7 separate regions of the Homo sapiens genome follow, and regions 1, 2, 3, 4, 5 and 6 are each linked to region 7. The links are contacts of gene promoters, found by promoter capture Hi-C in blood cells and fetal thymus (Javierre and others, 2016). All regions are on one chromosome and are shown on one strand. The core of a region is centred on a gene start or on the middle of the fragment in contact, and the rest is flanking DNA. Distances in the headings are between cores, read along the strand shown. Region 1 has its middle 89 kb from the start of LINC01981. Region 2 has its middle 46 kb from the start of LINC01981. Region 3 overlaps LINC01980 (long intergenic non-protein coding RNA 1980). Region 4 has its middle 20 kb from the start of LINC01980. Region 5 has its middle 30 kb from the start of EOMES. Region 6 has its middle 87 kb from the start of LINC01967. Region 7 holds the start of CMC1 (C-X9-C motif containing 1).

Region 1 (3,641 bases), core at 106-2,605, 320 kb before region 7:
ATTTTTTCATTTGACTATTCCGTCATTCTCTTTGCAATCTTGTACCTCAGTCCTACCTTCTGCTGTGGTTGGTGCTTCTGAGTACAATCTTGCCCTTTCACTTACACTGGAGAATTAATGATTTGCAGTGATGGGGAGTGGAGGCATTTGGCTGCTGGCAGCTCTGCATGGGGGTGGGGGAAGGTGGTATATAAATGCACATCGTTTTTTTTTTGTTTTTTTTTTTTTTTTTTTTGAGACAGAGTTTCACTCTGTCACCCAGGCTGGAGTGCAGTGGCGTGATCTCGGCTCACTGCAACCTCCACCTCCCGGGTTCAAGCAATTCTCCTGCCTCAGCCTCCTAAGTAGCTGAGATTACAGGCGCATCCCAACATGCCCAGCTAATTTTTTTTTTTTTTTTGTATTTTTAGTAGAGATGAGGTTTCACCATGTTGGCCAGGCTGGTTTCAAACTCCTCACCTTGTGATCCACCCACCTCAGGCTCCCAAAGTGCTGGGATTACAGGATTGAACCACTGTGCTCGGCATGAGTGCATATCTAGAATGTCAAGTCATTCATATGCCTTTTTACTTTAAGTTTTCCCTTGTGACATGTGTCATGGTAGTTGCTCCTGAGTTCTCTAGGGCAAATAAGTCCACATCTCATTGGTATCTCCTCGGTATGTATTTTAGATTGAAGCTCATTCCCCTATCATGTCAGTCATTACTCAACTCTCTGCTTTTTTTTTTTTTTTTTTTTTTTTTTGAGAAGGAGTTTCACTCTTGTTGCCCAGGCTGGAGTGCAATGGCACGATCTCGGCTCACGGCAACCTCCACCTCCCAGGTTCAAGCGATTCTCCTGCCTAAGCCTCCCTAGTAGGTGGGATTACAGTCATGTGCCACCACACCCAGCTGGGTTTTTTTGTATTTTTAGTAGAGACAGGGTTTCTCCATGTTGGTCAGGCTGGTCTCGAACTCCCAACCTCAGGTGATCTATCCGCCTTGGCCTCCCAAAGTGCTGGGATTACAGGCATGAGCCACCACGCCCCGCCTCTGCTTTACATTTTCTAAAAATGTAATCACGCCTCTCCTTTTCTTGCTGGGTTATATTGTTTTTACTCCTTTATTGCTATTTTATTGGAGTGATAAGTCTGAGAGGAGATTAAGGAATGTATCCAATTTGTTATTTTTATCTATCTGGGCAACTTTTCTAAAAGGAGGAAGATAAAATGATTGTAAAAATATATATTTTTTAATCAAATTAGAGTTGGTAGATAAAATAAAATTCTGAACACTATTTTTTTTAAAAGTTGCTTAAATTAAGTCAGCAAATTGGGTTAGCTGTACTTAATCTCTTTCCATTTTAGTTTTCTCTCCTGTGAAATAATGGGCTCCCCAATCCAGGTGGTTATTAGAACCAACTTGGATGCTTTTTTATAATCCAGATCCATAGACAACAGGCCCAGAGATTCAGGTTCCACCTATCTGGAGTAGAAAGCATGAGGCCAAATCACCTCTTAGCACTCTGGGCACTTAAATATTCTGTGAGTTTGATAATTTCATTTCTATTCCTTGATTTCCTTTTTAACTGGGAACTCTTTTAGGAATGACAACTTTTCTAAATAGTTGGATAATAGTGGACTCATTTAGAGCCTTAAACTGAAATTCAGTATTGCATAAATCACAAATTAACAAGTGGAATCATGCAATTGATTATTAGCTGGGAGGGCCAAGATGGAGTATGAGAACATGCTGTATAATTTGAGAAAAAATATTAAAAAATATTTTTATATTTGGAAAATCAAACACCCCTTTTCTTACAACAACTTCAAAATAAAATGCAAAAATTTTTCGTATCTGACATGGTATGTCAGAAATATAATTTATTTTCTGCATACACAAAGCTCTGGGTGGCGGTGAAGGGAATGGTGTCATGAGATTTTCAGTTTATCCAAAGGGGTCATGGGTTTAAAAAGGTTGGAAAGCACTGCAGTAGTGAGATGGATTGGTTTCTGAAGAAAAGTGAGAAAATAAAACCATTAAGTCCAACTGTCACTCTTCCAACTGAATATTGAAACCACTTGGGAAAAAAACTTGAGTGAGGTTTACAGTCATAAGCAACTTTGGTATTTTTGAGGTTTGCCTGTGAATTGCCATTTAACTGTACCACATACTTCCTAGATATGTGATTAGTTGCCATATTTTAAAACTTTCAAAAATGTTAAGTTGCTTGCTATACTGGGCTAACTTATTAAAAGGTTTCTGTTCATTTGGATTAGAGGATCTGTGTGTTTTGGTATGGTTTATGGACAGAGGATTCAGAGACTGGGATTTCTGTTCTACTTACACAATAATGTAGTGTATGAACTGGAACAGGTCACTTAGTATGTTATCTTTAAGTCTTTGTATATCATACATTGCATGCAAGGGTGATTTGGCTCAAAATTTGTCACCCATGGACTGCCAGGCTCATTTGACTGACTGATTCAGCCAGCTAGGTAAGTGTCTTCTTCCTCCTTGCCTCTTTATATTGTTGACAAATAAGGACGTGTAATCTAAAATGATGTTGTTACTTAGTGTAGCAATGGTAGTAACAGTAGCAGTTTTTCTCCAGAAGAGTAAGAGGTGAAACTGGTTAAAGAGACTAGAATATTAATATTAAAAGCAATGGATCTAGTGACAAGAAAGCTGATTTTGAGTCCTGGTTCTCCCAGCCCCATGGACTTGGTTATGACAGTTTAAGATTTCCGAGCCTTAGTTTCTTTGTTTGTAAAACTGAGATTATAATAGCTATCTGATATAATTGTTTTCAGAACTAGAGGAAATAATGTTTTCAAGGGCTGAGTGCCATGGTTGGCATTTTGCCTGAAGATAATTGCAGCACTGCACCTTTTTAAGTAAAAGGATGATATGATTAGATTAATGTTTTAGAAAGTGTGGAGGATGAGTTGGAGGCACATAAAACTGAAGGGCAAGAGATTTGAAGCAGGTGAAAAGCTTATAATAATACAGCTGAAAAATTATACAATCTAAAATAAAGCAGAAGAAGAGGAAATGGAAAGGATGAGACCTAGTTGAGTGATAAGAAAGTAAGTGTCTTGAAAATAAGGCCCGTGTCTTATTCATCACACAATGCTTGCCATGGAGTAGGTCCTGGGAAAATATTTCTTATTTGATCATGGAATTGACTCAGTTTGATTGAATATCACCAAAAAGGTAATAAGATGAGAAAATTTAAAACTCTGATACTTTTCTTCTCATGTTCTCTATTACTCCTAACTTTATCCCTCCTTTTCTCTATCTCCAATTTGGGAAGCTAGGTGTTTTGCCTTCATTTCTTTGGGTAAAGGTTGCCATAGGAGAAAGTAAACTTTAAGATATGGTGAAGTTTGTAACTTCCATTTTTCAAAAGAGCCTATGGCTATTTAGAAGAAAACATGATGAATCGGAGTCGATATTTCCTTCACGGAAATGAACAAGATTCCCTATGCTGAAGGATGGAGATATTCTCAGAGGACGTGATGAGCCCTGGTGGCTTTCTGAGGTTGTAGGGGTTGGCTGAGAGTTGAGGAAACTGGATCCATTTGGAGATAGGCAATCCCAGGAGACCTATGCCTCTGTCTCCGGGTAGTGCCTGGGGGTGGGGGTAGGGAGGAGGCAAGC
Region 2 (3,662 bases), core at 122-2,621, 360 kb before region 7:
TTTAATTTTTTTTTATTTTTTGAGACAGAGTGTCTCTCTGTTGCCCATGCTGGAGTGCAGTGGTGCGATCTCGGCTTACTGCAACCCCTGCCTCCTGGGTTCAAGCGTTTCTTCTGCCTCAGCCTCCCAAGTAGCTGGGACTATAGGTGCGCGCCACTACCGCCTGGCTAAATTTTGCATTTTTAGTAGAGAAAGGGTTTCACCATGTTGGCCAGGCTGGTCTCGAACCCCTGACCTCAAATGATACACACGCCTTGGCCTCCCAAAATGTTGGGATTACAGGCATGAGCCACCGCGCCCAGCCCTAATCTCTCATTTCGATGGTGTGTCCTATAATTGTTTCCTGAGAAAGGATATAGGAGATTAAAATGTTAAGCTCTTACATATCTAAAAGTGTCTTTAATCCACGCTGACATTTTACTCCTTGTCTTGGCATAGAATTCTAAATTGGAAACTATTTTCCCTCAGAATTTCCCCATTTTTCTGTTAGTTTCTACTGTTTTATTGAGAAATCTACAGCCATTCTGAATCTTGGTCCTTTTAATGTAAGCATTTTTTTTTTTTCTTTTCTGAAAGCTTTGGGATTTTGTCTTTGATCCTAGTGTTCTGAAGCACTACACTGGTGGGCCTCAGTGAGGATTTATTTTTAATTTTTGTGGTGAACCTCAATAAGACTTTTAATTCTGAGAAATTTTCTTAAGCTGTAATATTGATTATTGTATCTGTTTTCTTTTCTAGAATTTCTTCTACTTAGATGGTTAGTCTTCTGGACACTCTCTAAGCTCTAATTTGCAAATTTTTTTTGCTCTCATTTTCCATGTCTTGGTCTTTTTGCTTTACTTTCCAAGAAATTTTTGTAAATTATCTTCTAGCACATCAATTGAGATGTTCATTTCTGCTTTCAGGTTTTCATTTTCTAAAACTCAGTCTCGTTGTCTGCATGTTTGGTTTTTTAAAAATAGAATCCTGTTTTTATTTCATGCATATAATATCTCACTCTACCACCCAGGCATGATAATAGCTCATGGTAGCCTCCAAATCCTGGGCTGAGGTGTTCCTCCTGCCTCAGCCTTCTGAGTAGCTAGGCATATGCCACCATGCCTGACTAACTTTTGTTTTTTGTAGAGATGCGGTCTTGCTATGTTGCCCAGGCTACTCTTGAAATTTTGGCATCAAGCAATCCTCCCGTCTTGGCCTTCCAAAGTGTTGGGATTACAAGTGTGAGCCACCACACCCAGTCTTTTCTTAGACTTCTGACTTTCATGTTGTGTGTTTCCTCAGATGTCTGGTGATCAGCTTTCTTTGGTCTATTTAGTCAGTCAGTTATGTGCTCTTCTGCATTCCAACTTCCAAAATTTTATCACTATCATGAAAGGAGAGATTTCCTCAAAAAGAGAATTCCATCAATGAGGAAAGAGATATTGTCCCATTCTTCTCCTTGTCAATGTATGCCATTTAGAGGAGAGGCTGGGCAGCAGTGTGGAAGCTGGATAGGGAAAAAGTACTATTCTTGCTCAACTGTCCAGACCAATTTGCCTTTAATCCCAAACTTATGTTGGGGCTTAGAACACAATACCCCAAATATGGCACCTTGGTGTGCTGAGTACTCTGAACTGAAGGACACATGGAGGGCCTCAGAAACAAGGTCTGCCTGACCTTCTCCCATCCTCTGGTTTCCTGCCCCTCTTTCTCTTCAAAAGCAAATCACAGAAACCAGAATTTCACTTTTGCAAGGTGGGTCATAGAAACTAGTCCTCCTCTCACCCAAAGCAAGCCATAAAAACTAAAAAGGTCACTTTTCCCCTTCTCCCTTCTTACTTGAAGACCTCATTCCGAGGGCCCTGTCCCATATCCAGGAGGAAGGAATGTTACACAGAGAAGACAAGAAGATTCTGGAAAGGCCTTGCTGGGTTTGCCACCTATTATCATTAGATCATACTCTTTTGTCCAATCACATTTCTACATGGCTGTCTATTCTTCATTGAACCTAAAAAAAATAGACAGTTTTCCCTGGATCTCCCGATCTTCATTTCTAAAGGCACCCGTGTCACATAAAACTTTGATTAAATAACTGTGTTATGCTTTTCTCTTGTTTACCTGTCCTTTTTATAGGTGTGTAGGCTTGGATCCTATGACTGCTGAGGAAAATATCACACCTTTCCTCCCCTAAGCTTACTCAACCCAGCACAAGAAAAGCTCTGTGCCCAAATTTCCCATCCCTTCTTAGAAGGCAGCTTGAGCTCTATCTATCTCAAGCCTCTTTGGAGGATTAGTTCTGCCCCTTCTTTTTCTTCCCCTAAGCGGCTTGGTAAAGCAACCCACATGTAAGTCTTTTCTGAAAGTGGTTTTGGGAAATAGCATTGTCTTCATTGTATTTCATTTCCAGTGATTTTAGTGCCTTGTAAATGCCAGATGACTCCGTCTCTTTTTTCCTGCCTCTGCTTTCTTGCTACCCAGCCCAGTCTCAGTCTCCTCCTCTATAAAATGGGGGACATACTACCTCCCTTACTGCACTCTGGTGAGGAAGAAGTAAAACAAGGTAAATTGGAAAGCCAGTAGTCAGAGCCTGCCACTTCAGGAGCTTCTTGGCCTTTGACAGCTCTAAGAACTATGAGCACCATGGGAATATCTTCTCCCAATGTCTCCTTTACTAGGGGGCCCTTGATGAGGGTTTGCAGTTTTCTCCATCAGGGCTACAGTGTTTGCAAAAGTGAAAGTAACTTTAAATCCCTCGCGATCAAAACATAAGGTGAAAAACACCCAATAACTAAATTCTCACCTTAACAACTATTGCAAGTAAAACCGAGGAGGGAAGAGAAGATATTAACCTCCCTAGACCTACATGCAAGCAACAGGGTAAGTAAGCAGCATCAGTTCTCTGCACAAACCCAGAGAAGGTGTGAGACACTGTGGAGTCTGCTGCTTCTTTCAGACCCAGGGAATGTCTGCTTGACACCTCTCTTTCTGCCTCCCCGCACCCCACTTCCTTCTATTTTTGTAACTTAGAGAAGAACAGGAAGGGGTATTTTTTTTAATGTTTTTAAGCATTCAGGGTATGCCTGTGTTCTAGAAGCTGGTGAAGCTGTGAACTTGCCACAGAAAATGATTGTGACCCAGGACAAGGGCTTCAGCGTCTCTACCTTGTCAAAGGAGGAGCTGATCCTACCTGGTTGGAGAAAATTTTGTCATCTCCCTCAAGCTGGTGCAGGGAGTTCTAGCACACACTACTGTATGATATTCAAATCCAAAGTTAAAAAAGACTCCAAGATTGTTTTACTTAATCAGTGAAAGGGAAGGCAGCAACAGAGTTGAGTTTCGAGAAGGTGGCCCCTGAGCCAGCCTGCCAGATCAATTTGTGTCTCCTGGGAGAGACCTTTGGTGCTGGCTTTTCCCTTCAAGGGCTGGTAAAACCCATGAGGACCCATTGATTAGGCAATGACAAACTGATGACCGAGGCTGCTGAGATTATATTCATTGCTCAGTGGTTCAAATATGTCCACGATTTAGAGTGGAACCCTGTATAAAAATAAGAAACAGAAAAAAACCGTATATGGTTTTCAAATAAAATATATGCTGTCAGGATAACTAACTGGGGATTGGTTTGCTTAGTTGTTTTTCTTCGCTAGCAACCACTTCCAACCTACTCTCTATTTCTTGTTTTC
Region 3 (3,589 bases), core at 987-3,486, 440 kb before region 7:
GTATAAACTTCTCCCAGCTACCCCTGGGAGGGAGAGATTTCGGCAAACAGATGTCACCTACTGTGGAGGCTGCCCTTCAAGCCAACAATAAAAAACAATGTTGGTGATCTGTATGTTTTGATGGGGTGCAAAAGAGACATGCTGCCGTGCAGATGGGGCCCAGGGGTTTAGAGGTGAGCAGGAGTTGGATCTTACAAATTCTTCTACTGCCAGTTTTCTCGATCTTGGACACTATTGACATTTGGCGCCAGATAATTCTTTGATTGGGGAGTTTGTCTGCGTATCATAGGATGTTTAACAGCCTTTCTGGCCTCTAACTACCAGATGCCCTTATGCAGTACCCTGCCCCAGTTATTTCAGCAAAAAAAATGTCTCCAGTCATTGCCAGTGAGGAGGTCAAAATCACCCCAAGCTGAGAACCACTGTTCTACAGCAATACCTTTCAAACCTAGTATTAGTTGGTAGCTGTGCTATAAGTCCCAATAAAGTGATAACATTTGGGAAAAAAAAAAGAACTCTGAAAATTTAATTTTTATTATTTTTTAATTTTTTTTTTTTTTGAGACAGAGTTTCACTTTTGTTGCCCAGGCTGGAGTGCAGTGGCATGATCTTGGCCCACTGCAAGCTCTGCCTCCTGGGTTCAAGCAATTCTCCTGCCTCAGCCTCCCAAGTAGCTGGGATTACAGGCATGCATCACCACACCCAGCTGATTTTGTATTTTTAGTAGAGATGGGGTTTCTCCATGTTGGTCAGGCTGGTCTTGAGCTCCCGACGTCAGGTGATCCACTGCCTCGGCCTCCCAAAACGCCAGGATTACAGGCATGAGCCACGCCACCAAGCCCCACTGAAAATTCAATTTTTATGAACTAGACCAAATGTATGTTTATCCCTCTTAGAATGTTGTTGGTAGATACCAACAAAGATATTTCTTGAATGGAAGAGACGGTGGAAATGGAAATGAGATGTGTGCATGATATATTTTTTCCCTACTCCAGCCTGCAGTGGGTTACCAGAGATGAATCACTCATGGCTGTGATGTTATGGGGAAGTGCAAGGCTTTGCTTGCTGTCTTTAGTTCTGAGAATTTGTGAAGATCTGGTCACCCCAGTCACCCCCACTGGTTTCTCATGAAGCCATCGCCTGAGTTGCAGCAGACATAAGAAAGCTTGAGTAAAAACTGCTGATCCATAGCCCAAACAATTATTCGTCTGACACAGCCAACTGGAATGAAGAACTTTTTTGCTTCTTTTCCTACCTCTGTCTCAACTAGCAGGAGAATACCATATCTCATGGGAGTAATGTATCTTGCTGACCATTTCAACTGAGCATATTTATGCAAAGAATAGTAACTAACCATATGGGAGCTAAACTTAATCAGGCAAATTTGTTTAAAAAGTTGGAATTGAGTGTCTTCCACCAATCCTATTAAAAAAAGATACTTCATCCGTATTTATGCTGCTGTCTCTACTATGATGCTTGCTCAAAGAATGAGCAAGTTCAATCTCTTTGGAATACCTCTCTATGTTAGCAATGAGTGTCCTTGGCACCAGTAGGTAAGAAAGCTGAGAGAAGAGGGCTTACTTATACCCAGTGATAATTATGGTGATAGTCTTTCCTGAGGACTAAATTCCATGGTTCTTCAAGGAGCAGTGGGGTGCTTGCTCTGTCTTTTACCTTGAATGCCTCTAAAGCCATGACTCTCTGTGCTCAGCCCCTAAGGTTTTGCGGAGGCAGGCCTGGATCAATGGTTCCCAGGCCTAGCTGAGCATTTATTCACCCAAGGATCTCAGAAGAAATAATCAAGATCATACTCAGTTCTAATATGGTTTTGGGTGTGGGATCTCTGAATATGTATTTTTAAGAATTTCCTCAGGTTTTTCTGATATGCAACTACTTTGAATACCTCTAGAATAGTGAAGATGATGATGGTGGCTATGTTGATATCTACAGTGTATGGAGCTCTTACTGTGCTCCAGACCTGTGTTTAATGCTTCCCATGCATTCACTCATTTCATCCTTCCCAAATCTCTATGAGTTACTAGTATTGTTCCCATTTGAAGGTGAGGAAACTGAGGGTCAAAGAATTTAGTAATTTTTTCAAGTTCATGCAAGTCGCACTTGGCATGCCTCCGGAGCTGGAGTTTTTAACCATTAAACATTTTTTCCTCCCTACCATTTTTTTCAACTGTAAGGGGGGTGGGGGTTAGAATAATCAAGACACATGCAGATCATTGGGGGAAAAGATCTCTCTGAAAATGTCTGGAATTTCTGTAGGCCTCTGAATCTGGGCCTTTTTCTCAGAGTTAAGGAGCCGTTGGGCTGACAGGCACATTTAGGTGTAAAGTTGATTTTGTCATATCTCAGACAGGGAGTCTTGCAGCTCCATAAACAGGGAATGGAGGCTACAGAACTGCCTGAGGGAAAGGGTTCATAAAAATGATATTTTTACTAAGCACCAGAAAGAACATTTTCGTCTTTAAATATGCAGAGACACTACAGCAAGTATCACAAATTCATTCTGGTGATGCAATCAACAACACTTAATTATCAGCTCCACAAGCAAATTAGGTGAGAAAATTACTTGTCTTTTTATATTTATATTATTTCTAAAAGAATTCAAAGAAGATAAGGATTTAACTACCACAGCATATTACTCATAAATGCCTTCTCTTCTTTAAATGTTGTTTTTTTTCTCTCCCTTTGCTTTAGCCACAGGTCTGCCTGTTCTTTTGCTTTGCCATTTGTGTGGATACCTAGTAGAGCAATTTGGGTGCCATTCTTTGAGGAATCCATTGGATCTGTCAGAAAGCTGAGGTAGAGACAGTTGGTGTTAGGGTTAAGTACCAGGACTGGAGATATGTTCCTGAGTGTCTCTGTCTGAATCCATCTGTTTACAACATATGAGGCCAATTTTCTAAGAAGACTGAGCTGCCCTGCCAAGACTGTTTACCAGAGGTGGCTTTTAGGTGATATTTGTGCAGCCATTGATGCTAACTCATAGTCTGCAAATCCTAGCTCCACATTTTCTTTTTCCTGTGAGATATTGTTTTGAGGATATGGAGCTCTGTGGCCTAAGAAAGCCCACAGAGTTAACTCTGCCCATGGAGTTAGGCAGGGCAAAAAGAAAGCCCACCACTCCCCAGCAAAGTCATATTCTCCTCCACTTTCTCACACCTCACATGGCTCTATTCCCAAGGGATCTTTCTGAGATGCTTCTAGAGGGGAAGCTATCGCTTCCTCCTTAGTATTTTCTGAAAGCAATGAAGTCTCAGCTATTTTACTAAATATGCTTGCAACAGTTAGAGGCCAAAGCTTGGTTTCTTCTAGTTTCCCTAATTTGTAAACCTCTATGTTCTCAGTCTGCTCAGCCTGTGTTAGTGGAGAAGAGGGAAGGAAACTGGCTGGAGGCCGCTGGACCCACAGAGGACAATAGACAATCTCCTGCTGTAAGTCACTTCTGGTCCCATCATCAGTTATGCCCCCAGCAATTTGGTTCTCTATCTCCAAAAGCTAGAACAATTAGAGATTCTAGAATTTGTCTAGTCTAGTGTTTCAGAATCAAATGCCAGGCCTGAGGTGGCCAATGCAA
Region 4 (3,769 bases), core at 60-2,559, 460 kb before region 7:
TGAAGCCAATATACATTCAACCAGTGATTTGGTCACCAGATTCTATTAACAGAGTTATGTTATTGTAAGTTATTCCTTTTTCAGTGCTTAGACTTTTTTCCTATTAGTAAAATAAATGCACCAGGTATGGTAGCTCACACCTGTGGTTCCGGTGCTTTGCGAGGCTGAGGCGGGAGGATTGCCTGAGCCCAGAAGTTTGAGACCAGCCTGGGCAACATAGTGAGACCCTCATCTCTACAAAAAACTTAAAAAATTAGCTGGGCCTGGTGGCATGTACTTGTAGTCTTTACTACTCAGGAAGCTGAGGTGGGAGTATTGCTTGAGCACGGGAAGTTGAGGGTGCAGTGAGCCATGATCGTGCTGCTGTACTCTAGCCTGGGTGACAGAGCCAGACTCTGACTCTACAAAACAAACAAACAAACAAACAAACAAATAAATAAGCAAATAAATAAATAAAGGGCATAGTAGGGAGAGAAATAAGGGAACTAAATAAATTGTTATTTATTGCTGCACAGTAAAGAACCTCAAAACTTAAGGCTTAAGAAAATAACAGTTTTATTATTTCTCACAGTTCTGCGGGTTGACTGGGATCCGCTGAGCAGTTCTTTGGCTTCACATGGTGCAGCTGAATCCCTCATGTGGCTGAAAACCAGCCTGGGAACATCCACGATGACTTCACTCACATGTCTAGAGCCTTGTCTCCACGGTTGGAGTGGCTGAAGGCTGCTTGCATCACTCTTTCTCTCTACGTGATATTCCGTCAGTTAGGAATTGAGCCCAAGTTTCATTATGTGGTGGCTGTGTCCCAAGAGAGGAAAAATGGAAGCTGCCTGGCCTGTTGAGGCCTAGGCTCTAAAACTCAGAGAACATCATCTGTATTTTGCTAGTCAAAGCAAATCGCAGAGCCAAACTCAGATTCAAGATGAGGGGAACTGGACTCCTCCACTTGATGGAGAAGCTGTGTGTCAATTGTTGGTAGCCTTCTTAGCTGATCATCTACCACATAATCTGTCTTGTCCCCTGCCAAAACTTGGGGGAGGAAGGAAGGCTGCCAAGTCTTGCAGGTTTTGTGGAGAAATGAGTCGATATGGAGAAAGGGTGAAGGTGATGGTATAGAGGAGGAAGGGTTGCTACACAGGTTGGGAAGTGGCAATGGGAAGTCAGGATAAACATAACATCTCCTGCTCTTCATTACTTTGGATGTATTCATTCATCTAGCAAATATTTAACGTGGGAGCCTTGAGGCAGTGTGATAGACTGACAGGCAATTTCTGGAAGCAGCATTATTCTAAGAGGCTGCCTGTTCAGAGGGTGGTAAACATTTGGAAATCAAATTGCTCAACCAGAAAACAGAGAGAGGCACTGAAGTAGGGATCCAAATGACATTGGGACACACAAGTGTCAGTAAGTAAGGTGGTTACAGAAGCCATAGAGTGGGGAGGGCCTGAGGCGATTCCTGAGCTTCTCTATGGGCTGCAAGTGACTGGCAGGTTCCTACACATTTTTCATGTGGGTCCAATTTAAGGAGCTAAGTTGAAAGTGTAGGAAATTTCAGTATTGCTGTGGAAGTAGAAAAAAAAAGCAGTCTGTGAAGCTGCTAAGTCAGTGTGTTGGCTGTAGGTGATGGTTCCAGAGGGCTGCAAGGAACTTGGCCATTGGCCAAATTACTGGAGAAGGGTTCGAGATTAGGAGAACCTGGTCGTCATGTATTTTTGTAATTAAATGAAGGTGAGACATAGTTTGGAATCAGTAGTCCTTAAAGTTGCAGTCAATTTCAGGTGACATCACTGGTGGTTACTGGCTCAAAAGGGATGTCAGGGTTCCAGGGTCCAGAAAGAACTGGTCAGTGATAGTGCAGTCGCATTATTGGTGCAGCACTAATATCACCCCTGTACCACTTTAGGGCACCCCAGTCTATCAACTGCCAGCACCTGATTTTCTTTGCCTGAGGGCTCTATCTTGTCATTGGAACCAGCTCTGCCACCAGAATAGACAGAATATTAATGTTTCTCTCTTGTCATCCCCTTACCAGTGACTGATAGGATTTTATGTGTAAATACCCCAAATTCCCTTGCCCCTCAAAGGAATAACTTTGAGGTGTATGTTCTGTTCTGGCTCTAAGTGAAATTAAATTCCAGTAGCTCACATTGGTAGTTGGCTTGAAAATATACCCTTTAGTGACTGCTTTTACTTTTGACTTTCTTTTAAAACATGATGAATTACTAAAAAATATAAGTATAATAAGGACAACAGATCACGAGATGATTCCTATTGTAAAGATAGTTTATTACTCACAGTTCCAGGAGGAGGGGGCATGCCATCCCAGCAGGGGAAGGAGGGTGAAGTATTGGGGGTGGTCAGGAAGCAGAAGGAGGGAGGAACTGTAGGTTTCTGAGGAAAAGAATGGGTGAGGCAGGGTAAACAGGACTGGCTTATTTGAACAATTTCAAAGGGCTCTGAGATATAGGGGCTACCCCATAGTTGTCTGGTATCTGGCTCTGGAATGATTAGACCAGATGGATTATGGCTGGGAATGTGACAGCCTAATAAAGGAGGTGTTTAGGGTGTGGGCTGTGGATTGGTGGGTTTGTATTTGAAAACTGCATTCATAGGCAAGTTGTTAACCATCTCCAGGAACTGGCTAACCCTGCGCGTGGCAGAACTTCCAGAGTCAGCCAGGCCCCAGATGTCAGAGCATCACAATTCAGAAATAGAAGGCATGAGTAATACAGATGCTTGCTTCCCTTCTCCCATGTGAATGATTCTGTCTCCTCTCAAACAAACTACCCGAATTCAAATCCTTTTCTTAGGCTGTGCTTCTGGGGGGAAATCCAAACTAATCTAGACAGTGATGGTGTCTCTTTTAATAATCTGGATTTTAGGTGACTAAGGTGGTGGCAGTAAGAATGGAAAGAAAGGGATTCTCTAGAATGTGTACAATATTTTCAATCTTGGAACATGTTAGTTGAATAGAAATATATATGATTTACATGTATATATTCCTCTAAAATGAATTTAATCCCAGTCATTATTATTAGCTGCTTAAGAAGTGGGCTGGTGCCAGGTTGTATCACCCCTTGAGAATTGATTACTAAATATCCAGAAAACTTGAAAGCTGGTAGTTAAACTTTTGGCAGTTTGAAATTTGCCATGGTGAGAGTATTTACACAACCAAAACTGGCAAATGCTGCAAATCAGAGCTTTTCTCCACAGAGAGATGCTTTACCAGCACACTACTGCAATTATGGCAAGTTTATGAATAAAAGAACATATTGTCATGGAATTTTGGTGTTGAGAAAGTCATCGGGAATCATCTAATCAAAAATCCTGAGTTCAAACAGATAATGACACCCAGATAAATTTAAGGGAATAAATTGCCCAGAATGAGAATTGGTGGCAATGCATAGGCTAATACCAGTCTCTTGGTAAATAAGAATCCTCACAAATGTACTACCTGGGCTGATGCATTAAATCATTATAAATATTACTAGTGTTGGCATTTTTAAATGTTCACATTGTATTTACAGAGTAGTGTGTGTGTGTTGAGGAGGAAGAAGAGGAAAAGAAAAAGGGGGAAAGTTTTTCACACTATTGACAGTGCAATTTAATAAGGGTATTTTGTAAAACGCTGAAAGAAATAAATAAAAATTCCCTGAGCATTCATTGACACTGTAAATATGGAAAGTCTGTTATTGAACAACAGTTAAATAGATGCCAAGGGAGAACATTGTGACAAAATCTCAACAAAATATCGATATGAACATATTTC
Region 5 (3,732 bases), core at 1,019-3,518, 490 kb before region 7:
TAGAAAACTTACTTAAAGGAGAATAAATGAATTTTGTTTTTTTTTGAGATGGACTGTCACTCTGTCGCTCAGGCTGGAATACAGTGGCACGATCTTGGTTCACTGCAAGCTCCGCCTCCCGGGTTCACGCCATAAAGGAGAGTAAATGAATTATTTTTAAGGATATAAACATATGAGGTCAAATAGAATAGGAATGGAAAGCTGAGAGTCCACCAAAGTTATACCACTGAACTCCAAAGGCTCAGAAATTGATTGTGCCAACTACCTGTATGATGAGAGGAGGGGGAAACAGGGCCTAAAAGTGGGAAAATTGGTTGAAAGTAAGGTTGTAAATGCATTAGTCCATTTTCATGCTGCTGATAAAGACATACACGTGACTAGGCAATTTACAAAAGAAAGAGGTTCAATTGGACTTACAGTTCACGTGGCTGGGGAGGCCTCATAATCATGGCATGAAGGCAAGGAAGAGCAAGTCATGTCTTAACGTGGATGGCAGCAGGCAAAGAAATATTTTGCAGGGGACTCCTCTTTTTAAAACCATCAAATCTTAAAACCATCAAATCTTATGAGACTTATTCACTATTGGAGAATAGCATGGGAAAGACTTGCCCCCACGATTTAATTACCTCCCAGTGGGTCCCTCCCCAAACATGCGGGAATTCAAGATGAGATTTGGGTGGGGACACAGCCAAAACATATCAATAAATAGGTGAGAGTCTCTGATGCCCCCTCTACTCCTTGCACTAGGTGACAGTTCCTCTCCAACCCAGCCAGAAGAGGGATGGTTCCCTCATCAGACACATTCTCTGGACTGGGGATGCCAGATAGAAGGAGGAAGAAGTGAATGCTTATATTCTGAATTTTGAGAATGCCGGTCTTTTTCTTCTATCTTATTCCAGAGACTTGCAGTCAGGCCCATGTCCATGAGGCAGGAGATTTGTCACCCCTTCTCTGAGGAATCAGACTACATCAAATATTAGGATAGAAATGCTAAAAGTTTTGATGTCAGGGGTTCTCCCTATAAAACATTCCAGGCCTGTAACTCTACAGTGATCCTTGTAATACATACACCCTGCCAGCTGACTTGAGCCTTACAATCAACTATTGTTTGGTCCCTAACTTCTGAATATAAGATAACCAAAAATCACCATTCACATGTACCATAAAACATGGAGACTAAAACTTTCAAGAAGACAAAAGCAACTTGAAGGAAACATAGAAGGAAAAAAACAGAACAGCAACAACAACATAGCCACAACTCAACTATCATCTATATCCTCTGAAAGATATCATAAATCCGTGAAACAACAGGATGATGCTATAAAATTGGAGTATTGTAATATGCAGAAAAGGAGTTTGAATTCTTAGAATTTAAAAACACTAGTGGCAAGGAAGCAAAGAAGGCTTGGAGGCCGGGTGCGGTGGCTCACGCCTGTAATCCCAGCACTTTGGGAGGCCGAGGCGGGTGGATCACAAGGTCAGGAGATCGAGACCATCCTGGCTAACAAGGTGAAACCCCGTCTCTACTAAAAATACAAAAAATTAGCCGGGCGCGGTGGCGGGCGCCTGTAGTCCCAGCTACTCGGGAGGCTGAGGCAGGAGAATGGCGTGAACCCGGGAAGCGGAGCTTGCAGTGAGCTGAGATTGCGCCACTGCAGTCCACAGTCCGGCCTGGGCGACAGAGCGAGACTCCGTCTAAAAAAAAAAAAAAAAAAAAAGAAGGCTTGGAATGTAAAGCTGAGACACTTTCTCAAAATTTGGACAAAAACGAACATATAGAAAAAAGAAGATAAGATACAAAATTGGAGGACCAGTCCAGGTGGTCCATTTGAATATCATTTGAATTTTAGGAAGAGAAAGTAGAGAAACTGAAGAGAGACCACCAATGGAATAATTCAAGAGAAGTTTCCAGAATTGTAGGACATGGTTTCCTAGGCCAAAAGGACCCGTTGAGAGCCCAGTACAACGTATAAAATAGACCCATATGAAAGCACATCTTTGGGCACTTTCAGAACACAGGAGTCAAAGATAAGATCCTGAATGCTTCCAGAAACAAATACAAATCACAAACATAGGATCTGAAATCAGAATTTCTTTAGACTTCTCAATAACACTACTGGAAGCTAGGCAGGATTAGAGCAATGCTTTCAACATTGTGAAGGAAATTTATTTCCACTCTAGGATTCCATACCCAGTGAAATTATGACTTAAGTAGGAATGTCAATTAAAGATTTTTCAAATATGTATGCTCTCGAGAAACATATGCCCCATGTACTTTTTTCTCAGAAAGCCACTGGAGGATGTGGGTTAGCAAAACAAAAAAGTAAACAGAAAAAAATGCATGTCATAGGTTTCAGAAAACAGAGGATCCAACACAGAAAAGAGGCAAAGTGAAACCCAAGATGGTGATGAAGAAAGCAGAGGAAATGCTACATGAGGCAAGATGGCAACCAGTTTATTGTGAACTGGGTCAGAAAACTCCAGGGGAGATTCCTGTGAGAAAATAGAAGTAATACAATACTTGCTGTATCTGAATGTCTTATGAGGAAATTTAGACACCTGGAAGAGAGATAGGGGTTGAATTGGAGGAAAACAAAAACTTAGGCAGAAAAGAAAAATTTGTCACAATGTACTGCATGGCCCAGCAGTGAACTTCAAATACTGAGGTAACCAGGCAGGGTGCGGTGGCTCACGCCTGTAATCCCAGCACTTTGGGAGGCCGAGGCAGGCAGATCACTTGAGGTTAGGAGTTCGAGACCAGCCTGGCCAACATGGTGAAACCTTATCTCTACTAAAAATACAAAAGCTAGCTGGGCATGGTGGCGCACACCTATAATCCCAGCTACTCGAGAGGCTGAGGGCAGGAGAATGGCTTGAGCCCAGGAGGCGGAGGTTGCAGTGAGCTGAGAGTGTGCCATTGCACTCCAGCCTGGACAACAGAGCGATACTCTGCCTCAAAAAAAAACCAAAAACCAAAAACCAAAAAACAAATATGGGAGTAACCAAAATTATGACATTGAGAGGCTGAGGACATGGTGGTGAGTGGGGGGTGGGGTGGTTGGGGAGGGTAGGGTGGGTCAGACTAGGAAAATCAAGAATAGTTATTTCAAGATATGAACCTGGGAGGCAGAGGTTGCAGTGTGCCGAGATCGCAGCACTGCACTCCAGTCTGGGCGACAGAGAAAGATTCCATCTTAAAATAAAATAAAATAAGAACCCAAATATTAAAGTTTAAAAAGTCAGGGATAAGAAATATTGAGGTGGCATTAATATTTTCCTCTTGTACTCCAGTGTATCATATTTTACATAAAAGTCCTGGACCCAGGGTCTCATACTTCTTGGGAGGCAACTGGATTGATTGATTGATTGATTGATTGATTGTACTTTAAGTTCTGGGTTACATGTGCAGAATGTGCAGTTTTGTTACATATGTATACACGTGCCATGGTGATTTGCTGCACCCATCAACCCATCACCTACATTAGATATTTCTCCTAATGTTATCCCTCCCCTAGCCCCCCACCCCCTACAGGCCCCCTTGTGTGATGTTCCTTTCCCTGTGTCCATGTGTTCTTATTGTTCAACTCCCATTTATGAGTGAGAACATGTGGTGTTTGGTTTTCTGATTTTGTGATAATTTGCTGAGAATGATGGTTTCCAGCTTCATCCATGTCCCTGCAAAGGACGTGAACTCATCCTCTTTTTATGGCTACTTAGTATTCCATGGTGTAT
Region 6 (3,788 bases), core at 621-3,120, 300 kb before region 7:
AATTCTAATTAGAGAAAGATTTTGTGATTCTCACTAGGCAACTACAGTCATGCATTGCTTAATGATGGGTAGATGTTCTGAGAAATGCATCATTAGATGATTTCATCATCTGAACATCACAGAGTGTACTAATACACACCTGCATGGTATAGCCTGCTACACACATAGGCTGAATGGTGTAGCCTATTGCTCCTAGGCTACAAACCTGTATAGCATATTACTGTACTGAATACTGTAGGCAGTTGTAACACAATGATGGGAGAGGTAGCTGAAATTTTCCCTTCAAGCACCTGCTCAGGCACAGTCTACACCCACCCCCAGGAGCTGGAAGTTGGGGCAAATTAAGCTATCTCCTCCAAACACATTGAATACAGACAATCCTACTTCAAAATAAACATCAAAGAGAAAAGTTCATAAATATACACACTGAAGCTAGTGTGTGGAATGTGAATGGCCCGCTGCTTTGCTCTCAGCCTGCGATGGTGATTCATAGGTCAGTCGTAGCCATGAGAATCCCTCTTTGCATTCTTACATGACAGCTGCAGTGGAAGACAATCAGGCCTGGAAGTCAGGTCACATGTCTTACGGACTCAATGACCCCAGCATTGTCATTTATCCTCCTTGAACTTCAGTCTCCTCTTCTGGTATGTGAGCTGTTATTTGATCCCCATAATGACATGGCAGTGAAGAAGCAGGGAACTGAGGACACTCAATCTGTAAGGAGTTAAGTGACTCTCCCCAAAGTCGCATAGTTAGGAATGGCAAAAAGAAAGGCTTAAACTTGGGTTTTTGGACTGTGAGCCTAGTGCTACTTCCTCTTCATAATTACAGAGCCTGTGCATTTATATGATTTATATGACTCAGGTCTTCTTTAGGAGGTTGAGAGCACAGACTTCTAGGCCTGGGGTTACCAATTGTTCTGGTTTACCTGGGACTGAAAGCTTCCTTGGGCATGAGACTTACAGTTTTAAAATGAGGAAACCTGGACAAACAAGGACAAATTGGTCACTATAGCTGGTTAAAATTTTAGGCAGTGGTTGTCAATTGTGGCTGCAGAATAGAATCACCTGGATTGCTTAAAAATACTGATACTTAGGCCCATGCCCGGCAATTGAATCTGAATCTCTGGGAGTATCTATATAATTTTTTTTTAAATCTCTAAAGTTTATTTTGATGTAAAGATTGAGAACTACTGATTTAGAATACAGTATCAATGAACTTCCTCCTTCAGCAGACCACACATAATTGCCCACAATCAAGGTGGGGGAAGTGGCTCACCAAAGTCTTTTTTTTTTTTATATTGTGTTTTTATTTATTTATTTATTTATTTATTTATTTAATTATTATTATACTTTAAGTATTAGGGTACATGTGCGCAATGTGCAGGTTAGTTACATATGTATACATGTGCCATGCTGCTGTGCTGCACCCATCAACTCATCATTTAGCACTAGGTATATCTCCTAATGCTATCCCTTCCCCCTCCCCCCACCCCACAATAGTCCCCAGAGTGTGATGTTCCCCTTCCTGTGTCCATGTGTTCTCATTGTTCAATTCCCACCTATGAGTGAGAACATGCGGTGTTTGGGTTTTTGTCCTTGCAATAGTTTACTGAGAATGATGATTTCCAATTTCATCCATGTCCCTACAAAGGACATGAACTCATCATTTTTTATGGCTGCATAGTATTCCATGGTATATATGTGCCACATTTTCTTAATCCAGGCTATCATTGTTGGACATTTGGGTTGGTTCGAAGTCTTTGCTATTGTGAATAGTGCTGCAATAAACATGCGTGTGCATGTGTCTTTATAGCAGCATGATTTATAGTCCTTTGGGTATATACCCAGTAATGGGATGGCTGGGTCAAATGGTATTTCTAGTTCTAGATCCCTGAGGAATCGCCACACTGACTTCCACAATGGTTGAACTAATTTACAGTCCCACCAACAGTGTAAAAGTGTTCCTATTTCTCCACATCCTCTCCAGCACCTGTTGTTTCCTGACTTTTTAACGATTGCCATTCTAACTGGTGTGAGATGGTATCTCATTGTGGTTTTGATTTGCATTTCTCTGATGGCCAGTGATGGTGAGCATTTTTTCATGTGTTTTTTGGCTGCATAAATGTCTTCTTTTGAGAAGTGTCTGTTCATGTCCTTCACCCACTTTTTGATGGGGTTGTTTGTTTTTTTCTTGTAAATTTGTTTGAGTTCATTGTAGATTCTGGATATTAGCCCTTTTGTCAGATGAGTAGGTTGTGAAAATTTTCTCCCATTTTGTGGGTTGCCTGTTCACTCTGATGGTAGTTTCTTTTGCTGTGCAGAAGCTCTTTAGTTTAATTAGATCCCATTTGTCAATTTTGTCTTTTGTTGCCATTGCTTTTGGTGTTTTAGACATGAAGTCCTTTGAAAGGCACATTGGAGAAGGTTGCTTTCTTCAAGGTTGTAACAGCTGGAGCGAGCCCTCAATTGACTAAAGCAACAAATTGTACTACTGAGGGAGCTGCAAGGACCACAATTCCATCTACGGCCCCAGGACTTGTGTGGAAAGACAGACACTGCTTCTTGAAAACCATCTTCCATAGACTGGCATTCAGTCCCCTTGGCTTACCGCAAGGAGGAGGGAGAGGATGCCAATATGGTGTGATGAAAGCAAATCTCTGCGTGTGGGAGTTTTCTTCTAACTACCAAATAAAATGACTGCTTTTGACTAGGTTTAATGGATCTGACTTTTAAAAAATCAAAGAGTTTAGAAAGCCTCAAGGTAAATAGTTATAAGAAAATAAAAATCATTTCTGCATTAAGCTTCAAATGAAATAGGGAATGTCACTTGGTGCCTATGACACCTGAGTTGCCTTGCTCTTCCTGATCCTGTGGCATTCTGCGTCATCAGCTGTCTTTTGAGAATAGACCAGAGTTGAGGATAACTTCTCACCTATGCATTTAAAAATGGCACATCAGAGTCCTGTGACATGATTTGCCCATGGCCATTTACAATGGCCAAAAATGCCAAAGTAGAATTTGTATTAGCCTGCACATTGTTTCTGATCACTGTGGGGATTTTCTGGTTCTAAAAACAATAGTGCTGAATATAATTTTGAGAAAAAATACAATAATCATTCCCCAATAATTTCCCAGCAAACATTTTTATGTTTGTGTTTTTGTGTCTGTCTTATTATCAAATGATAGTACCAATAAGAAGATAATAAGAAACCAGGATGTAATACTTATTAAACCTCCCTGGAATAAGATGACATTATAAGTTTTGAAGCAATGGGAAAAATGACAAATAAGAAAAACTGGCCAACGTGTTTAAAAATTTAAATCTCTCTGAACATACTCGTGTGTGTGTGTGTGTGTGTGTGTGTGTGTGTGTGTCATGGTCAAGTAGCACTTAGGATCTTATGCCATCTCCTTTTCATGTGCCTTCCAATACATCAGAGGTAGAAAGGTAAAAATGGATATTTCCCAGGCTCCTTTGCAGGTAGGGTGGTAGATTCAAAATAGATTCACCCATTAATGCATTCCTGTGAGGATTTAGAGGCAGAAGTGTGCCAGATGCTGCTGTTGGCTCTTCATTTTTGGTTTTAGGTACAGCTGTGGAGATGTGAGGTCTAAAGTAACATTCCAGGGTCTCATCCCCACCTTTGTGGTTGTCAGGAGACATTTGGGCTGGAACGGTGGGGACTTCTTATTCCTTTGGTCTCAGCTGCAGTGGCGTGTTCTTCCTGATGGTGGCAGATGTATTATAGCAGCAGCTTTTAAGGACCAGTTCTGTGATGATTTAGG
Region 7 (3,893 bases), core at 702-3,201:
TGCAGTTACTACCCAAAGAATTGCCTATTAATAATGCGATGCCTCAGGAAATTTCTTCTGTTTTTAATTGCCAATTACATTCGCTTAACTTAAAAAATGACTTATCTTCCCTAGGTATAGATTGTAAAGACTCAGTTTCCCCCCAAAGTATCTGGTTTAACATGGGAGTAGAGAGAGATATACTATTATGTATCAGGTATTGGGCTACCGTTTTTGCTAGTGCTTCTCCTGGTGTGATACGTCTAGCAGTTCATTCTATGGGGCACACAAAACCCATGATATTACAGATACTGTTGCTTAGGATAAGGCTAAAGTAAATAGTGCCTATTTAAGTGTTTTTAAAAATGTGTTGATTTAAAAACAAATGTTAAATAGTAATGTTTCAAGTAATAGCTATGGCAGAAATGGTAGAAGTGGTCCTTTAAAGTCTTTCAAATGCATTGTATGATATCACATTTATTCCTCAGAACAACCTTGTAAATTGGAAACCAAAGTCCAGAAAAATAATAGAACTTACTCAACTCACTAAGATAACAGATCAAACTTTCCTCCTTTACCATAATACCCTTTTGCATATAGAAAGATTTAGTTTAATTCTTGAATATGGGTGTCTGACCTGTGTTTTCATACTCCATCTCCTCAAAAAGATTGCTTTAGCTTTCTAAATCAAATCCTTCACCTTCAGAACAATAAAAGAGGCATACCAGAGTCATTTTGGTGTATTTCTAAGCATATTTACAAAATATACAAGGAAAAGGACCTGATTCCCTGGCTGGGTGAGTGAAACGTTAATTCTTCACCTTGGCACCTCAACCTACAGCTGTAATAAGGGCCGTTATGCCCAAATAGGCCCTTAAACGGAAGACCTGCTGAGCAGAGACCCACTTTCCCAGCCCTGCTCAACTGCCTCAGCTTTTCTGCCAACTGACCAGGCGGAAGCAGCAGCAGGGGAGGAGGGACTGCAGGTAGGTGGGGAGGGGATCATTTTGAAAGCCCTGAATCCCTTGCAGGGAAGAAGCAGCTGCTCCTTGTTTTTCTAAACATCTGTCCCATCTGTCCCAGGCCTCAGCTCACCCTTTCGTGGCTCGAGCCAGTTAAACGTGAATTTGACAAGGAAGCACTTCTGAAGGCTGGTTTGTGAGTGGAAATGAACCTAAGTGCCACCTAGAAAGTTTCTTCTATTGAGAAGAGGTGAGTAGTGGGTCTTCAGCGGGACGGCTATTACCTTCCTTCATTTTACTCTCACAAAACATACAGCTTTTACTGATAGAGGCAGGATTTGTAACATCACCCAAATCATACTGTACGTCCTGAGGATATTATTTCACAACATAGAGGTACTTCTAGAGCCCATATTTTAACGTCTAGGAGAGCCACAGTCTTTGATTTGAAGGAGAAATAACGATATTGCACACACCATATCACCTTTATGGTAGAACAAGCTGTGAACAACTAGTGCGTGTGGCGTTTATCACATTTAACAGCGTGTTGCTTTTATTTGTCTCCTCTGCCACACTGCTCCTTGAGAACAGGGACGTTATTTTTATTGTTATTTTCCCCTCGTATTCAGAACCGTGGCTGGAACTTGGCAGGCATGAAATAGACATTTATGAATGAATGAACGTTAACGAAGAAAAAAAAAGGAACTGGATGATTCATTTGGTTCTCCGAAGGCGGGTATGGGGGACGGGGCTCGGACTTTGGCCCAGTCACCGAGTGAGGCACAGTCCCAAAGTCCTGCAGGTCCGCCTCCAGTCACGGCCGACCCGGGTCTGCAACTGGTGCACAAGCCTCCTGAAGCGAGGCTGCGCGCGTCCTGCACGGTCCCGCCCCAAAGGCACGCAGACACGCCCCCTTTCCTGGTCATTCCCCCTGCGAAGTCAGTTCCACTCTAGTTACAGGATTGGGGCGGGGCCAGAAAGGCGCAGGCGCAACGGGCGGCGGAAGTAGGAGCCTGGGAAGGAAGAGGGAACGGGTCCTGGCGGTGCTTTGCAAAGGGCCCGTGTTTCTGTTGCGGGAAGCTCCCGGGGGTCGCACGTGCGTCCGAGCCCAAGCCCCTCCCCTCCACTCCCCTTCCTGCGTGCCCCGGAGCCGCCAAGCGGCTACGTTCTTCTCGGCCCGCCGAGATGGCGCTCGACCCCGCAGGTACCGGGGCGGGAAGCGGGGTTTGCCGAGGGGCCTCGCCCCGGGTCTCACGCCGCGGGCCATGCGGGCTGGATGCCGACCTGGGAAAGGTGCAGAGCTCTGGGTAGCATTGCTTCCACCAGCGTCTCCTCATACCCGGCGGCTGCTTCGCCCGGTCTGAGGTCATCTTCTCACTTGTTGGGGATTATGGTTATCTGAGGTTGCGTTTGTTGTCTAAAGTATCATCCATTGTGGTTTCCAACTTAACGCGACTAGTCTCTTCATTGTCACCCTCTTTTCGCCCCTTAAGGTCACAGATGCATTTAATGTATGCTGCAGACACTCTGGCCCCAGAAAAATTTGTATATTTGTTCTGGCGCACAGTTTTACATTTCTGTTTGGGAGTTCATGGACCCCGAGTTCATCCTTGTAACCCAACTTAAAAACATATTTCAAAGGATCCATCACTATGGCAGGAGTCAGTTTCTTTGGAAAGGATCTTCAAAATCTTGAATGTTGTTTTAATCTCTTTGCTTCCAGCCACTTCCGTTTGCAGCAATAGTTAACTTACCCTCGAATTCCCGTCCTTGTGGAAGGTCACCTGCAGTATCTTTGCGTTAGGCTATTTTTGCAAGGGAATAGATAACATTTTTGGAGGGAATGGTAGTTGGTCTAGTCCATTTCTTTCATTTTATGGATACAAAAAGTCAAAACATTGAGAGGTAAATGGCGTCAAACTTGGGAGATTCAGAAATGGAAAATGCTCTTTCGGAGCCTTCAAGGAGCATGGAAAATATATGTAGCACAGAAATAATGTTTTAATTGAACATGTTATTACCATGCTAAGTGTTCTCTATTATCCAACAATAATATGTGGTATGGTAGGTCCTTTTAGCTCCATTTTACAGATTAGGAAACTGAGGCGAAGAGAAGTTAAGTGACTAGTCCAGCAGGTAGTGGTAGATCAGGGAGTACTCTAATTTGAAGCATAGAGGAGTTCTGGAACATAATGATCATATTCATTTTGGACTAGGTGGTTATGAAGCAGTTAGCAGTTGATCTGGGCTTTGAGGGATGGAATTTCCAGTGGTTGGAGCTGGAGAAGAGGCAGCCCTATGAGCAAAGGTTTAGATAGTAAGGTGCACTGTGCGATGCTTGGTTTCAGGATGACTACCATGATTTGGTTCTTGAGGGTAGAAGGGGTAGAGTATAAGTGAGGGGTGAGTAAGGAAGGTTCAAGTTTAGGCCCATATAATTTATGGTATCTTTTTTTTTTATTTTACTGAAACGGAGTCTCACTGTCGCCCAGGCTGGAGTGCAGTGGCGCTATCTCGGCTCACTGTAGCCTCCGCCTACTGGGTTCAAGCAATTCTCCCACCGCAGCCTCCTGAGTAGCTGGGATTACGGGCGCCCGCCACCACGGCCGGCTAATTTTTGTATTTTTAGTAGAGATGAGGTTTCGCCGTGTTCGCCATGCTGGTCTGGAACTCCTGACCTCAAGTGATCTGCCTGACTTGGCCTCCCAAAGTGCTGGGATTACAGGTGTGAGCCACCGCACCCAGCCTAATTATGGTACTTCTGAACTTGAAGTGACCTTTAAAGTAATCTCATACGGATGAGGAGACTGAGAATGAGAGAGGTTAAAGATTTCCATATATCTACACTTTTTGAATTTAGACAAGGAAATTTGGGAAAAAAGTCTTCATACTTGCTCTCTTCACTTGCTTACCTTCCAGTTACTCATAAGCCACTCCAATCTTGTGTTGTAC

Evidence for each region. The method cuts DNA at HindIII sites, captures the fragments that hold promoters and counts their contacts. A CHiCAGO score of 5 or more calls a contact.
Region 1: a contact is called between a fragment that was not itself captured here and the fragment with the promoter of CMC1 in region 7, in 2 of 17 cell types (M2 macrophages and total CD8 T cells). The highest score is 7.9, in M2 macrophages.
Region 2: a contact is called between a fragment that was not itself captured here and the fragment with the promoter of CMC1 in region 7, in 7 of 17 cell types (total CD8 T cells, non-activated CD4 T cells, total CD4 T cells and 4 more). The highest score is 9.0, in total CD8 T cells.
Region 3: a contact is called between a fragment that was not itself captured here and the fragment with the promoter of CMC1 in region 7, in 1 of 17 cell types (naive CD8 T cells). The highest score is 6.4, in naive CD8 T cells.
Region 4: a contact is called between a fragment that was not itself captured here and the fragment with the promoter of CMC1 in region 7, in 3 of 17 cell types (naive CD8 T cells, total CD4 T cells and total CD8 T cells). The highest score is 6.2, in naive CD8 T cells.
Region 5: a contact is called between a fragment that was not itself captured here and the fragment with the promoter of CMC1 in region 7, in 7 of 17 cell types (total CD8 T cells, total CD4 T cells, naive CD8 T cells and 4 more). The highest score is 9.4, in total CD8 T cells.
Region 6: a fragment that was not itself captured here is called in contact with the fragment with the promoter of CMC1 in region 7 in 3 of 17 cell types (M2 macrophages, naive CD4 T cells and total CD8 T cells); the score reaches 6.6 in M2 macrophages.

What each region holds. Positions count from the first base shown.
Region 1 is chr3:27,921,461-27,925,101 of GRCh38, forward strand. No RefSeq gene overlaps it. Among named protein-coding and RNA genes, the nearest start is that of LINC01981, 89 kb to the left of the region's middle. The HindIII fragment of the contact is 3,236 bases long and covers 1-2,973 here.
Region 2 is chr3:27,878,681-27,882,342 of GRCh38, forward strand. No RefSeq gene overlaps it. Among named protein-coding and RNA genes, the nearest start is that of LINC01981, 46 kb to the left of the region's middle. The HindIII fragment of the contact is 1,595 bases long and covers 575-2,169 here.
Region 3 is chr3:27,799,405-27,802,993 of GRCh38, forward strand. It overlaps LINC01980 (long intergenic non-protein coding RNA 1980), which reads left to right. Exons shown (of 5, transcript NR_146630.1): 2 at 3,360-3,446. Among named protein-coding and RNA genes, the nearest start is that of LINC01980, 3.6 kb to the left of the region's middle. The HindIII fragment of the contact is 2,147 bases long and covers 1,164-3,310 here.
Region 4 is chr3:27,775,570-27,779,338 of GRCh38, forward strand. No RefSeq gene overlaps it. Among named protein-coding and RNA genes, the nearest start is that of LINC01980, 20 kb to the right of the region's middle. The HindIII fragment of the contact is 9,075 bases long and covers 1-3,769 here.
Region 5 is chr3:27,750,724-27,754,455 of GRCh38, forward strand. No RefSeq gene overlaps it. Among named protein-coding and RNA genes, the nearest start is that of EOMES, 30 kb to the left of the region's middle. The HindIII fragment of the contact is 6,751 bases long and covers 1-3,732 here.
Region 6 is chr3:27,939,588-27,943,375 of GRCh38, forward strand. No RefSeq gene overlaps it. Among named protein-coding and RNA genes, the nearest start is that of LINC01967, 87 kb to the right of the region's middle. RefSeq lists an enhancer at 329-921. The HindIII fragment of the contact is 1,863 bases long and covers 940-2,802 here.
Region 7 is chr3:28,239,668-28,243,560 of GRCh38, forward strand. CMC1 (C-X9-C motif containing 1) reads left to right here and starts at 1,952. Exons shown (of 4, transcript NM_182523.2): 1 at 1,952-2,145. The coding sequence starts at 2,127. RefSeq lists a silencer at 2,165-2,244. The HindIII fragment of the contact is 9,835 bases long and covers 1-3,893 here.